Linked DNA regions of Homo sapiens: region 2 is linked to region 1. Evidence: promoter capture Hi-C in 16 types of primary human blood cells and fetal thymus (Javierre and others, 2016). All regions are on one chromosome and are shown on one strand. Each heading gives the region's core, a stretch centred on a gene start or on the middle of the fragment in contact. The rest is flanking DNA. Distances are from core to core; before and after follow the strand shown.

What was found. Contacts are between HindIII fragments. The CHiCAGO score rates a contact against its expected background, and 5 or more counts as called.
Region 2: a fragment that was not itself captured here is called in contact with the fragment with the promoter of ASMTL-AS1 in region 1 in 2 of 17 cell types (naive CD8 T cells and neutrophils); the score reaches 6.4 in naive CD8 T cells.

What each region holds. Positions count from the first base shown.
Region 1 is chrX:1,395,019-1,402,517 of GRCh38, reverse strand. It overlaps ASMTL-AS1 (ASMTL antisense RNA 1), which reads right to left and starts at 1,987. Exons shown (of 6, transcript NR_026711.1): 1 at 1,932-1,987; 2 at 293-1,056. It overlaps LINC00106 (long intergenic non-protein coding RNA 106), which reads right to left and starts at 5,493. Exons shown (of 3, transcript NR_130733.1): 1 at 5,294-5,493; 2 at 3,560-3,693; 3 at 3,106-3,151. LOC124900597 (serine/arginine repetitive matrix protein 1-like) reads right to left here. Exons shown (of 5, transcript XM_011546186.2): 3 at 6,970-7,388; 4 at 5,294-6,146; 5 at 3,657-3,693. The coding sequence ends at 6,126. The HindIII fragment of the contact is 21,745 bases long and covers 1-4,852 here.
Region 2 is chrX:1,602,050-1,609,548 of GRCh38, reverse strand. It overlaps AKAP17A (A-kinase anchoring protein 17A), which reads right to left. Exons shown (of 5, transcript NM_005088.3): 5 at 7,029-7,499. Among named protein-coding and RNA genes, the nearest start is that of ASMT, 9.3 kb to the left of the region's middle. RefSeq lists an enhancer at 1-84 and a silencer at 1,101-1,273. The HindIII fragment of the contact is 7,250 bases long and covers 22-7,271 here.

The DNA of each region.
Region 1 (7,499 bases), core at 738-3,237:
TTGGGGGAGGAAGGGAAAGAGGCTGTATTTGGGGAGTGGGGACAGAGGCTGAATTTTGGGAGGGGGGAAGGAGGCTGCATTCAGGGAGGAGGGGACGGAGGCTGAATTGGGGGAGGAGGGGATGGAGGCTGCATTTTTAGAGGAGGAGATGGAGGCTGCATTCGGGGAGGAGGGGACGGAGGGACAGCCAGGAATAACTGTTCAGCCCACGGATGTTCTGGGAACCAGCAGCCTTCCAGAGTAGCCAGTGGGGACTCCCGGGGAGGGCGGTGGGGACAGGGCTTTCTCCTACCTCCTAGCAGGCAGACGGCTGCTGTGACGGTGCCGTCTACCAGGCAGGGTCTCAGTCCTTCTCCGCACTCCAGCCTGCATCTTCCCATCTTCTGCACGATTTCCAGTGTGTTTCCTCCATGGGGCGCCATCGCTGCCGCTCACCCCTGGATGCCCACAGGCTATGGAGTGGCAGTTCTCTGGGCGGCTTCCATCTCTCCTGCCTTGGTGCAGAGACTGTCACGAGCGGGACCTCCCCAGCCCCTGCTGCGGGGCTGAAATGCGTCTGTAAACACCCCCCACCCCGAGCCCAGGCAGGCCAGACTCACACCCACCCCGTGAGGCCCTCCTGGGCACATGCTCACTGCGGTTGTAGGGAGCTCAGCGCATCCACGTTTCCCCCGTGCTCCGCTCCCAGCTGCTGTTCCCGGCCTGTGTCCCGACCCTCAGACCTCAGTTCACCCTCTGGTGCCCACACAGCCCCCTTTCCTCCCTGGCCCCTCCACCAGGGAATGGCTGGGCCAACCTGGGGCTGGGCTGGGGTGGAGCCCTTTAACTCACAGCCTTGACCTTAGGAGGCACTGAGGTTCAGGAGGCATCTGCAAAGCGAGAACCGGAGCAGGCCTAGGTGCTGTTTTCACGGCGCGTGCACCCAGCTTACCTGTTCCTGGGCTGGGCGTCAGTCTCCTATATTTCAGCTGTTTTCCTTTTTCTGAGACAGACTCTGGAGTTTAGCTCTTCTTACCCAGACTGGAGTACAATAATGCAATCTCGGCTCACTGCAACCTCCGCCTCCTGGGCAGTCTATTTCAAGGTGCAAACTCCGCCTCCTGGGCGGCCTATTTCAAGGTGGAAGCCCCACCTTCTAGGCCTATTTCAAGGTGCAAGCCCCGCCTCCCGGGCGGCCTATTACAAGGTGCAAGCTCCGCCTCCCAGGCGGCCTGTTTCAAGGTGCAACCCCACCTCCCGGGCGGCCTATTTCAAGGGGCAAGCCCTGCCTCCTGGGCGGCCTATATCAAGGTGCGAGCTCTGCCTCCCAGGCAGCCTATTTCAAGGTGCAACCCCGCCTCCTGGGCGGCCTATTTCAAGGGGCAAGCCCCGCCTCCTGGGTGGCCTATTTCAAGGTGCAACCCCGCCTTCTGGGCGGCCTATTTCAAGGTGCAAGCCCCGCCTCCCGGGCGGCCTATTTCAAGGCGCAAGCTCCGCCTCCTAGCCCAATTTCAAGGTGCACCCTCTGCCTCCTGGGCGGCCTATTTCAAGGTGCTCACTGCACAGATGGGAGTGGTTTTCTGCAATGGTCACGGATGATCTCAATAACACCAAAGTCACATGCTGCTCCACCCTTACAGTGGCCTGGTATCACAAAAGAATGTGTAGGTTGCTTTGTGCTTTAAGAAAACAGCTGAAATAGGCTGGGTGCAGTGGCTCACGCCTGTCATCCCAGCACTTTGGGAGGCTGAGGTGGGCGGATCACCTGTGGTCAGGAATTCGAGACCAGCCTGGCCAACAGAGTGAAATCCTGTCTCTACACAAAATACAAACACTAGCCGGGCATAGTGGCAGGAGCCTATAATCCCAGCTACAGGGGGGAGGCTGAGACAGGAGGATGGCTTGAACCCAGTAGGTGGAGGTTGCAGTGAGCCGAGATTGTGCCACTGCACTCCAGCCTGGGCGACAGAGTGAGACTCCGTCTAAATAAATAAATAAAAGAAAACAAAACTGATCTCTATATATTTTATGTAATATAAATTATGTGTTCCATAAATTCTGTAAATTATGTGTTCTATCCGTGTACAGGCACGTGTGTAGAGGTGTGAGTGTTCAGGTGTGTATACATACACATACACACCCATCTGTGCGCACACACACACACACACACACACAGTCACGTGTGTCACTGAATGACAGGGACCTGTTTCGGGAAATGCATCCTTAGGCAATTCTCTTTGTGTGCCCATCACGGGGTGCACTCACACATACCGCCGTGGCACATACAGCCTGCTACTCACCTGGGCTGTGCGGCAGGGCCCCAGGCTCCCGGGCTACAAACCTGGACAGCAGGTGAGTGTGCCCAGTGCTGCAGGCTGCTGTAATACAATGGTAGGGATTTGTGTGTCTACAAATAAAGGCACACGAAAACTACTGTATTACCATCTCCTGGGACCTCCGCTGTCTAGGAAGGCCGTTGTTGACTGAAGGGTTGTTACCTGGCACAGGTGACTGTGTATAATTCTGGACAGACTCCGTTTTTTTTTTGGTCTGTTTTTTTCTTTTTTGAGACAGAATCTCACTCTGTTGCCCAGGCTGGAGTGCAATGGCACGATCTTGGCTCACTACAACCTCCACCTCCCGGGATCAAGTAGTTATCCTGTCTCAGCCTCCTGAGTAGCTGGGATTACAGGCACCCACCACCATGCCCGCCTAATTTTTGTGTTTTTAGTAGAGATGGGGTTTCACCATGTTGGCCAGGTTGGTCTGGAACTCCCGACCTCAGGTAATCCGCCCACCTTGGCCTCCCAAAGTGCTGGGATTACAGGCACGCACCACCAAACCCAGCTAATTTTTGTATTTTTAGTAGAGACGGGGTTTCACCATGTTGGCCAGGGTGGTCTAGAACTCCTAACCTCAGGTGATCCGCCCACCTCGGCCTCCCACAGTGCAGGGATTACGGGCATGCGCCACCACACGCGGCTAATTTTTCTATTTTTAGTAGAGACGGGGTTTCACCATGTTGGCCAGGCTGGTCTCGAACTCCTGACCTCAGGTGATCTGCCCACCTCGGCCTCCTAAAGTGCTGGCATTGCAGGCGTGAGCCACCGTGCCCGGCCTGACTCATTTTTTTTTTTTTTTTACAATCACACATGGTGTCTCCATGGGAGGCCTAGATGAAACAAGAAGAAAATTTGGCTTTGATGATGAAAGGGGGAGTCCAGTGCGGTGGCGCATGCCTGTGGCCCTCACCGCGTGGCAATCAAGAAGGATGAGGCTTCCAGGCCCCTCCATCACACTGGCCTCAGCGTGGGGCCAGGCAGGACCTGACAGCCACCAGGAGATGCCACGGAGCCCAGCCCTGCAGAGCAGCCAGGCCTCTGTCCCTCCTACCTCCCTCCTCCCTCCCTTCCCACGTCAGCCTGGCCCGTAACTGTCCCTCCTTCCTCCCTTCCCACATCAGCCTGGCCCAGAGCTGGGGCGACAGCATCCCGGTCACCTCGGGCTGCCCCAGCCAAACTCCTCTGTCCTGTTCTGAGAAAGCAGGCAAAGTCCCTGCCTACAGGGTTCCCCCACGTACCTGCAGGACACCGTCTGTCTTACGGCACGAAGCCCAGGGCCTCCGTAGGGCTCACAGGCGGCTTCTAGAGAAGATGCCCGCCACAGGTGCTCTCTGCTCCATCTCAGGTGACCACTGGCCATCTCGGAAGAAACCTGCTTTGATGGTTTTGAAGCCTGAAGCTCCTTCCTCTCCAGCCCCTGCCACCCGGGGCGGGGAATGGGGACGGGATGCAGACAGAGGTGGGCCCAGCCCTCCAGGAGTTCTAGGGGCTAGGGACAGATTCCCACCACTTGGATGCCCAGGGAAGGCCCCACCCCAGATTGAAATGTTCATGGGTCCAAGAAGGTTCTGGGAGTCACCCCAGGAAGAGGCCGGCATGGGAGGTGCCTCTCGGTGGAGAGAATCAGAGGCGCCTGCCCTAGGGGGAGCCCAGGCCCCCCTTCGTCTTGGCTGCTGGGAGTGAGCTGGGGGGCCGCATGGTTGCAGCAGGGACCTCCGGCATGGCCTCCCTGTGTTCTGGTGCCCTCGCCATTTGCCCTTAAAGCAAGGGCCCGTGGAGGGAGTCCCCCAGGTGGAAGGAAGTCGGATAAAGGGTCCCTGGGGCTTGTTCCTCTCCCTCTCCCTTCAGTGTCTGCTAGAAATTTTTTTTTTTTTTTTTTTTTGAGACAGTCTCACTGTCGCCCAGGCTGGAGTGCAGTGGTGTGATCTCGGCTCACTGCAACCTCCGCCTCCCGGGTTCAAGCGATTCTCCTGCCTTAGCCTCCGCAATAGCTAAAATTACAGGCGCCCACCACCACGCCCAGCTAATTTTTTTGTATTTTCAGTAGAGACGAGGTTTCACCATGTTGGCCAGGCTGGTCTTCAGCTCTTGACTTCAGGCAATCCACCCCGCCTCGGCCTCCCAAAGTGCTCGGATGACAGGCGTGAGCCACCACGCCCAGCCCGTCTTTTTATTCATTGGAGTAACTGTGCAAAAACAGGACCTCTGGACTCTTAAGAGTCTGTGTGTGGCATGCACAGAACATCCCGAGGATTGTGATGATTTAAAAACCAGTGGGGTGACAAGGCTGGAATTCTGTGCAGGGCAGCCTGGCGGGCCGGGTTCACCCACTAACTCCTCCTCTACTCAGCGAGCACTGCACTATGAGTGTCTGGTGCATACCAGGAGTGTCCGTCTGGCTCTAAAACAGCCTCTGGATTCATCTGGGGGCCGGGGCAGGGGAAGCGGGAGGACAACAGATCCTAAGGATGATGTCGAGTACACAGCTCCTCCCTACCTGCCCAGCTCGAAGGCGCACGTCCAGGGAAGCTTTGCAGAGAGCCCTTTTCCAGGGTAAAAGTCTTAGGGGGCTCTTCTAGGGGGAGAGGTCTTGGGGAGCCCTCTTCCAGGGGGCAGGTCTTGGGGGGCACCTTCACGGGGGAAGTCTTCGGGGGCCTCCTTCAGAGGGCAGTCTTGGGGGGACCCCGTTCGGGGGGCCTTTTGAGGAGCCCTTTTCAGGGGGGTGACCCTGGGAGTCCCTTTTCAGGGATGAGGTCTTGGGGAGCCCTCTTCAGGGGCAATGCCTTTTGGGGGCCCTCTTCTGGGGAAAGGGGTCTGTCAAGCCCCCTCATCCTGCAGCCTCATCAGCCCTCCCCGGACCACACTTCGTACAGGCAGAGCCTCGGCAATGATTAATTACAAAAGATGTGCTGCTGCCCCCACCCGACACAGAGCCTGGCACCCCACCCCACCCCGCACAAAGCCAACCTCACCCCTGCTCTGATTCCTTCCCGGCCGTCCGATGAAGCCTGAAGTCTTCCCGTTAAAACACCTCTGCTTCTGGGCGGGGCGCGGTGGCTCACAGCTGTCATCCCGGCACTTTGGGAGGCCGAGGTGGGCGGATCACTTGAGGTCAGGAGTTTGAGACCAGCCTGCTTGGGCCTGGCACCCAGGATGTGCTTGCCAAATGCTTCTGGAATGGATGGATGGAACCCCATCTCTACTAAAAATACAAAAATCAGGCGTGGTGGTGCACACTTGCTATCCCAGCTACTTGGGAGGCTGAGGCAGAAGACATGCTTGAACCTGGGAGGCAGGGATTGCAGCGAGCCGAGATCACGCCACTGCACTCCAGCCTGGGCCACAGAGCAAGACTCCGTCTCAATAAACACACAAACAAAAAAACCCACATCTACTTCTATTATTAACCCACCTACTTTTCTGAGCCCCAAGGGGCTTTCTGGACAGATTCCAGCAGAGCGGCTGCTGGTCAGGCAGCAGTGATCTCTAAAGCTACGCAGGTAATTTTATCAGATGCTGGCAGAGAAGGGGTTCTCATGGGTGGGTACCTGGCAGGCGGATCGGGGCTCATTCCTTTCTTCTTGGTCCTTGGAGGGGCAGGGCAGTGAGAGACACAGCTCTACCCCCACTACCCAGCAGCTGTTGTCTCTCCCACTTCCAATTCCTGGGTGTGAGGCCCACCTGATCCTCCTTTCCCAAGGAGGCTGTGTGGCCCCAAAGGCCTCCCAGGTCATGCCCTAGTCAGGCATAGCAACTGTGTTGTTCCCTCCCAGATACGAGGGGCAAAGGAGTTAGTGTCCAAGGCTAAGTCCCACGTGCAGCACTCTGTATGGAAAAACAGCCCCAATTAGCAATTCATTCATCCATCCATCCATCCATCCATTCATCCATCCATCCATCTATTCATCCATCCATCATCCATTCATTCCAGAAGCATTTGCTGAGTGAGCACATCCATCTATCCATGCATCCATCCACCCACCCATTACCCATCCAATTATCCATCCATTCCAGAAGCATTTGCCGATCGAGCGCATCCATCCATCCATCCACCCATCCATTCCAGAATCATTTACCAAGCAAACACATCCATCTATCCATCCATCCACCCACTCATTGATTATCCATCTATCCATCCATTATCCATCCATCCATCCCAGAAGCATTTGCCAACAGAGTGCATCCATCCATCCACCCACCCACCCATTCATTATCCATCCATCCATTCATTCTAGAATCATTTGCCAAGCAAACATATCCATCTATCCATCTGTCCATCCACCCATTCATTATCCATCCACCCACTCATTATCCATCCATCCCAGAAGCATCCATTATTCATCCATCCACCCATTATCCATCATCCATCCACCCATTATCCATCCATCCATCCATCATCCATCCATCTATACATTATCCATCCATCTATCCATTATCCATCCATCCATCCATTATCCATCCATCCATCCATTATCCATCCACCCACCCATTACCCATCCAATTATCCATCCATTCCAGAAGCATTTGCCGATCGAGCACATCCATCCATCCACCCACCCATTCATTATCCATCCATCCATCATCCATCCATCCATCCATCTATCCATTATCCATCTATCCATTATCCATCCATCCGTTATCCACTCACCCATCCATCCATCCATCCCAGAAGCATTTGCCAAGCACATCCTGGGAGCCAGGCCCAAGCAGGCGGGCATCCTCCTGGCTCTGAGAGGAGCTTGAGCAGAGCCCACAGACAGCACCACCCTGCTGGCGGGTCACCAAGCCACCAAGCCAGTGCAGGCTGAAGGCTGAGCACACAGAGCACCGGTCTCAGTGTCTGGACATGGTTAGCCGTCCCCACCCGCATGGAAGGAAACTTCTTCTCTCCCCTAAGACAGGCTTTGCAGACTTGGAAAGGGAACGCCGTGTTGCAGGGCTCAGGCCTGGAGCCCCGGCCAGAGCAGATGCGAGCCAGCCTCATCTGGAAATAGCAGCTCTGGTCCCGGCCTCGCTGAGGCACTGAAAACCAGCACCAGGGCCCCGTCCAGCCCGGCCTCGCTGAGGCTGGGAAACAAACACAGGTCTGTAAGGCGCAGCTCCCCAGCAAACTCCCCACCCCTGCCCAGCACCCACAGCGCTCCTGGCCTCTGTCCTCTATTCCAGGACCCCTGTAGC
Region 2 (7,499 bases), core at 2,397-4,896, 210 kb before region 1:
GAGGCTCAGGCACCTGAAGCTTCCTACAGGCCTCGGAGTCTCACCGCGGCAGCGGCAGCAGGAGAGGAGGGGCCCGAGAGAGATTGAGAAGAGCCTGGGACCCTACCGACCAGCGTGGTGTCCCCATGTCCCCAGAATGCAGAAGACCCAGGGCTGGGGTTTGGCGGGGATGTGTGGAGTCTGAGATGCCTGTGGGGTGACTGGCCCTGGATGGTCCAGTGTGCAGGTCCTGCCCTGGGGCAACTGTAAACAGCCGCCCCCTCCGTTCTCCCAGGGGAACATACTGTTGCTTTTTTTTTTTTTTTTTGAGACGGAGTCTCGCTCTGTCACCCAGGCTGGAGTGCAGTGGCGTGATCTTGGCTCACTGCAAGCTCCGCCTCCCGGGTTCACGCCATTCTCCTGCCTCAGCCTCCCCAGTAGCTGGGACTACAGGCACCTGCCACCACACTCGGCTAATTTTGTTTTTGTATTTTTAGTAGAGACGGCATTTCACCGTGTTAGCCAGGATGGTCTCGATCTCCTGACTTCGTGATCCGCCCAACTCGGAGTCCCAAAGTGCTGGGATTACAGGCGTGAGCCACCGCGCTCAGCCCCTGGAGTAGGGACAGGGGTGACCTGGAGGCTTGGCTGGAGTAGGGGCAGGGGTGACCTGGAGGCTTGGCTGGAGTAGGGTCAGGGGTGGCCTGGAGTCTTAGCTGGAGTAGGCGCAGGGGTGGCCTGGAGAGGTAAAGCCTGTTGCCTTTACCTCCCAATGACCCTGGCACAGATGGGCTTCCGGACTGAGTGCCTCGGTGGTCTCTGGCAGCCTGGACAGCCTGGACAAGAGTCATTTGCTGCAGAGAGGGGACGGGACGGAGTGATGGGAAAAGTTTTTCACCAGGAGCAGAGGCATGAGCTGAGTGAGGTGGGGTGCAGGGAAAAGCCCCTGCCATCTGGGACGGAGGCGGCAGCCCCTGTGCAGGCCGATCCAGTGGCCGGGTGCAAACTCGGGAGGTTTGCTGGGGCAGCGTACAGCGGGGAGGGTAGGGGGTCGAGCTCCCGCTCTGAGTCAGGCTGTGCAGGAGAGCAAGGCGGGAGACACAGGATGCCCCAGCTCCTGGGCAGGTGGACGGGGCTTGAGGACGCCACCAGGAGGGTGTGCGTGTCCTCCACCAGGTGGGAAGGAGGATGAGCTAGTGAGGAGGGGCAGGTGCCCAGGAAGGAGGCATGGGAGGAGGTCCCAGACGGGATGCCTGGGTGATGCAGCTCCGCTCACCCCTGCCCGAGCTGGCCGGTCCGGCCGCAGCTTCAGCATCCCCTGGGAAGCCGCTGTTGGAGATGCTGGAGGCCTGCGGGGCGGGCCAGGGCAACACATCACCACCTGGACATCCATGGCTACGGCTGAGGGCTGGGACCTCTCCTATACCCCCCATGCATGCATGTTTTTCTATACTCTTTATTGTTTTACTTTTTTTGAGATGGAGTCTCGCTCTGTCGCCCAGGCTGGAGTGCAGTGGCGCAATCGCCTCTCACTGCAAGCTCCGCCTCCCGGGTTCACACCGTTCTCCTGCCTCAGCCTCCGGAGTAGCTGGGACCACAGGCGCCCGTCACCACGCCCGGCTAGTTTTTTTTGTATTTTTAGTAGAGACGGGGTTTCACCGTGTTAGCCAGGATGGTCTCGATCTCCTGACCTCGTGATCCGCCCGCCTGGGCCTCCCGAAGTGCTGGGATTACAGGCGTGAGCCACCGCGCCCGGTCTGTTTTTCTTTTTAGAGACAGAGGGTCTCTCTTTTAGAGATGGGGTCTCACTCTGTCGCTCAGGCTGGAGTGCAGGGGCACCATCATTTCTCCCTGCAGCCTTGAACTCCTGGGGTCAAGCGATCCTCCTGCCTCAGCCTCCCGAGTAGCTGGGGCCACAGGCACCCACCACCACGCCCAGCTACTTTAAAAACTTTAAAGTTTCTGTATGTTTGCTAGAGACAAGCTCTCACCATGTTGCCCAGGCTGGTCTCGAATGCCTGGGCTCAGTCAATCCTCCTGCCTCAGCCTCCTGAGTAGCTGGGACTACAGGTGCCTGCCACCAAGCCTGATTAATTATCTTTGTAGAGATGGGGTCTTGCTATGTTGCCCAGGCTGTTCTCAAACTCCTGGGCTCAAGCTATCCTCCTGCCTCGGCCTCCCAGAGTGCTGGGATTACAGGCATGAGCCAACCTACGCATTTGTAATATTATCTAAAATTTTTCAAAAATGCAGATGGTGCCATTTTAGACATAGAATATGTAATTTTTCAAAAACTCTTTGCTTCATCCCGAAGGCTGCGGCCTATGGAATTTGAACATGATCACAATCTGGTAACCGTATTCACCCATTTTAACAATACAGGTGAACAAATTAACAGCAGTTCATGTCATATTGGCACTTTTGAAATACATTTTATTTATTTATTTATTTATTTGAGATGGAATCTCACTCTGTCATCCAGGCTGGTGTGCAGTGGGGTGATCTCGGCTCACTGCAACCTCCGCCTCCCGGGTTCAAGCGATTCTCCTGCCTCAGCCTCCCGAGTAGCTGGGACTACAGGCACGCACCTCCATGTCCAGGTAATTTTTGTATTTTTAGTAGAGATGGGGTTTCACCGTGTTGGCTGGGCTGGTCTGGAACTCCTGACCTCGGGTGATCTGCCTGCCTCAGCCTCCCAGAGTGCTGGGATGACAGGCGTCAGCCACTGCACCTGGCCCATTTTTTTTTTTTTTACCTTGATGTATTATTATAGATTTAGGGCATAGAAGTGCAGTTTCGTTACCCTGGAGGCCGTTACTTTAATTGAAATCACAGAGACACAGAAAGTCAAACGCAGCGTGTTCTCACTTCTGAGTGGGAGCTGAGTAATGTGTTCACGTGAGCACAGAGAGTGGAATCGTAGACACAGCGCTGCTTTATTCACACGTACCCGTATCCCCATCCTCCTTCCCTCTGGAATTCCAAGCTGCACTTTTGAACTTGAAAGTTTACCTGGTGAGGCTGGGTGCGGTGGTTGATGCCTATATTCCCAGCACTTTGGGAGGCAGGTGGATCACCTGAGGTCAGGAGCTTGAGACCAGCCTGGTCAACCTGGTGAAACCCCATCTCTACTAAAAATTAAAAAAAAAAAAAATAGCCAGGTGTGGTGGCAGACACCTGTAATCCCAGCTACTTGGGAGGCTGAGGCAGGAGAATCACTTGAACCCGGGAGGCGGAGGTTGTGGAGAGCCGAGATTGTGCCACTGCACTCCAGCCTGGGCGACGGAGCGAGACTGTCTTGAAAAAAAACAAAAAAACGGAAGGAGCCGAGGATGGTCACCGTGACACAGGCCATACTCAACAGGGAAGTTTGATTTTTTTGGCTGAAAGAGATCCTGAGATCCCAACTGAAGACACGAGGCAAATCGGTTCAGAACTAAGTGTCATAAAAGGGTATGAACGAGAGAATCACACTTTCTCACTCGTATTTTGCAATAAATCCATTCGTTTTCTGTTCTGCCACATGGAAGTGAAATTCCTTGTGGATTTTTATTTTTTATTTTTTATTTTTTGTGAGACAGAGTTTCACTCTTGTCGCCCAAGCTGGAGTGCAATGGTGCGATCTCAGCTCACCGCAATCTCCGCCCCCCAGGTTCAAGTAATTCTCCTGCCTCAGCCTGCTGAGTAGCTGCGACTATAGGCATGTGACAACACGCCTGGCTAATTTTTGTATTTTTAGTAGAGACAGGGTTTCTCCATGTTGGTCAGGCTGGTCTTGAACTTCTGACCTCAGGAGATCCACCAGCCTCGACCTCCCGACGTGCTGGGATTACAGGGATGAGCCACTGCACCCGGCCTATTGTGGATATTTTAAGTGGATAATAATCCCAATCACTAGAAAGGGACTGAACACAAAGTGCCCTAAATCACAAGACCGAGAGAGACAAAGAGAGACTAAAATAGAGATAGGGAGAGAGGGCAAGCAGAGGGGAAGCTGGGCGAGAGGAGAGAAGGAAGGATTAAGAGAGGAGGAGAGACAGGCCGGGAGCGGTGGCTCACGCCTATAATCCCAGCATTTTGGGAGGCCAAGACAGGTGGATCACGAGGTCAGGAGTTCAAGACCAGCCTGGCCAAGATGGTGAAACCTCGTCTCTACCAAAAATACAAAAAATTAGCCGGGCATGGCAGCAGGTGCCTGTAATCCCAGCTACTTGGGAGGCTGAGGCAGAGAATTGCTTGAACCCAGGAGGCGGAGGTTGCACTGGGCCGAGATCGCGCCACTGCACTCCAGCCTGGGCAACGGTGAGATTCCATCTCAAAAAAAAAAAAAAGAAAGAAAAAAAAGAAAGGAGGAGAGACAGAGACAAAAACAGAGATCAGAAGAGAGTACAAGCAGAGGGGAAGCTGGGCGAGAGAAGAGACAGCAGGGAAAAACAGGGGAGAGACTGACAGGGGTTGAGAGAGGGAGGAGGGCAGGGCACGCACACACCAATCTCCTATGCTCCCCCCAGAAATCTGTGGGGCAACATTCCTCGGGTCGAATGCTTCCATTTCTTCCTTCCAGGCTCAAGTGTAAAGACAAAATCTAATCAGTAACAGCGTTGCTTCAATTAATCTCCATTCTCACCTATCAGCCGCTACTTACTGCTACTGACCCCTACAGCAAAGAAGAGAAATTTCAGCCGGGCGCGGTGGCTCACGCCTGTAATCCCAGCACTTTGAGAGGCCGAGGCTGGTGGATCTCCTGAGGTCAGGAGTTCAAGACCAGCCTGGCCAACATGAAGAAACCCTGCCTCTACTTAAAAATTCAAAAATTTTAGAATTTTTGAATTCGTCTCAAAAAATAAAAGAGAAATAGGAAAGAGGGAAGGAAGGAAAGGAAAAAAGAAAGAGAAAAGGAAAGAAAAGGAAAAGAAAGGGAGGGAGGGAAGGAAGGAAGGAGAGAGAGAGAGAGCACGAGCGATAGACAAAAGAGAAAACAGAGAAAAGGAGTTCAGATTCCTAAATCTCTTCCATAGATACCCAATTCTATAGGCCTGGGGGTGGTGCTCTCCAGCTTTCCTAGACTGCCCACATCTAACATATCACAAGGCAACACGCATTCAATTTCTGCCACCTTCTCTCCCATCAACCCCTAGCCCAGTCCACCAGCACTTCAAGCCGCCACACTCATCACACTCCCAGCTTACAGCCCCTCTTGCTTCTCGTCCCAAAAGTCTGGAGTGGGTCAGCCTCATGAGTGCGATCAGCTCCATGTCCACCTTTCCTGCTTCTCTTCTGCCTACTCCTTCCCCCGGCCACATGCACTTCTTGACCTCAGACACACCACGTCCACCCTTCTGTCTTGCGCACACAGCTCTCTCGAGAAGCTATCACTGGGACTTCTCATCCCTGTATCTACACATTCCTCAGCGTTGCAGGGAGTGCTGTCTTTTCCAGCACCATATCCCAGGTGCCCAGAGCAACACCTGGTCCTAGCAACGTTGTTTGTTTGTTTGTTTGTTTTTGAGATGGAGTCTCGCTCTGTCGCCCAGGCTGGAGTGCAGTGGCGTGATCTCGGCTCACTGCAACCTCTGCCCCCCAGATTCAAGCGATTCTCCTACCTCAGCCTCCCGAGTAGCTGGGATTACAGGTGACCATCCCCACGCCCGGCTAGTTTTTTGTGTTTTTAGTAGAGACGGGGTTTCACCATGTTGGCCAGGCTGGTCTTGAACTCCTGACCTCAGGTGATCCACCTACCTCGGCCTCCCAAAGTGCTGGGATAACAGGTGTGAGCCACCATGCCCGGCCCTGGCAACGCTCTAATAACTACTGAACAGGCAAAAAGCTCAGTGCTGGGCTGGACAGACTGACACAGATACACAGCTTTTTTTTTTTTTTTTGACAGGAGTCTCGCTCTGTCGCCCAGGCTGGAGTGCAGTGGCGCGATCTCGGCTCACTGTAAGCTCCACCTCCCCGGTTCACGCCATTCTCCTGCCTCAGCCTCCCGAGTAGCTGGGACTACAGGCACCCGCCACCACGCCTGGCTAATTTGTATTTTTAGTAGAGACGGGGTTTTACTGTGTTAGCCAGGATGGTCTCGATCTCCTGATCTCGTGATCTGCCCGCCTCGGCCTCCCAAAGTGCTGGGATGACAGGCTTGAATTGCCGCGCCCGGCCAGATGCAGACTTCTGAGAGGTCCGTGTTTGCAAACACTCTGTGTCTGGACGCATCTTGTCAGTTGGTCTCAGGCCAGACAGAGCCGTTTGAGAGAAAGGTGTGTGTGTAGTGCTCATCTGTCTGCTAGTGATATGAGCTTGGGGGTGCAACAGGCACGTGTCCAGCCCTCCAGTCCCCAAGAACGTTTGTGTTTTAATTAAACAGAGGAACAGACTATTCCACCCTGGGTCAAGCAGGCAGTGCCTACGCTACCTGTGACCACTACTTTAGGCGGGGAAAAGAACCGTCTTTGGCCGGGCGCGGTGGCTCACGCCTGTAATCCCAACACTTTGGGAGGCCAAGGCAGGCGGATAACGAGGTCAGGAGATCGAGACCATCCTGGCTAACACCGTGAAACCCTGTCTCTACTAAAAAATACAAAAAAATTGGCTGGGCACGGTGGCGGGCGCCTATAGTCCCAGCTACTCGGGAGGCCGAGGCAGGAGAATGGTGTGAACCCGGGAGGCGGAGCTCGCAGTGAGCTGAGATCGTGCCACTGCACTCCAGCCTGGGTCACAGAGCGAGACTCCGGCTCAAAAAAAAAAAAAGAACGACCGTCTTTTAAATTTGCTTTAAAAACAGCTCCTTGGCTTTAAAAAAGATTGGTTTTGGGAATTTGGCTAAGTTTATGTTCTCAGCAAACAAATCAGATGCCTCTTAAGAGCCAGGATTCTCCTCTCAGAAGGTTACTACCGTACAGCTGCGGGAGAGCTGTGGGATATGTCATCGTTGAATCAGCAGTTCTAGGAAAAGCGAACGATCTCTACTGGTTTCACGCACACTTGGCTAGCCTCAGCTGAATAATGCAGTCCAAGGAACATAAAAACACAAAAATCGTAAGCGTGAAAAATTTTAGTTCATTGGAAAAGGATTTTATTTCACCATAAAAATGCAAACTGGAATAAACACCATCTTTCCTAACGCGAACGTTACAGCTATTTTTAGGTATTTCTGAGCTTCACTTGGAGAAGCAAACGATTATAAAACAAGTTTGCAGCCTGAAATCTGTTTGAAACATTCCAAGTAAAAATAATTTAGCAAAACAGCTTCTTAAAAAAACCACACACACTAACCTTTACTAGAAACCAAAGCTTTTAACCAATCTTTTTTATGCTTAATTCCTTGACGTTGTAAAAAGTGAATGTTTTTGAAGGAGCATCAGACCATTTTGTACCACTCCCCACATACCGACACCTTAGAAAGAACGGCCCGTTTGAGTTTTGATCTTAAAGGACTTGTACCTTCCTCATCCGTGACTCAATGTCAGCACGACGATTCGGCATCCCACCCAAACTGCACTTCCTGATCAGTTAACATTACA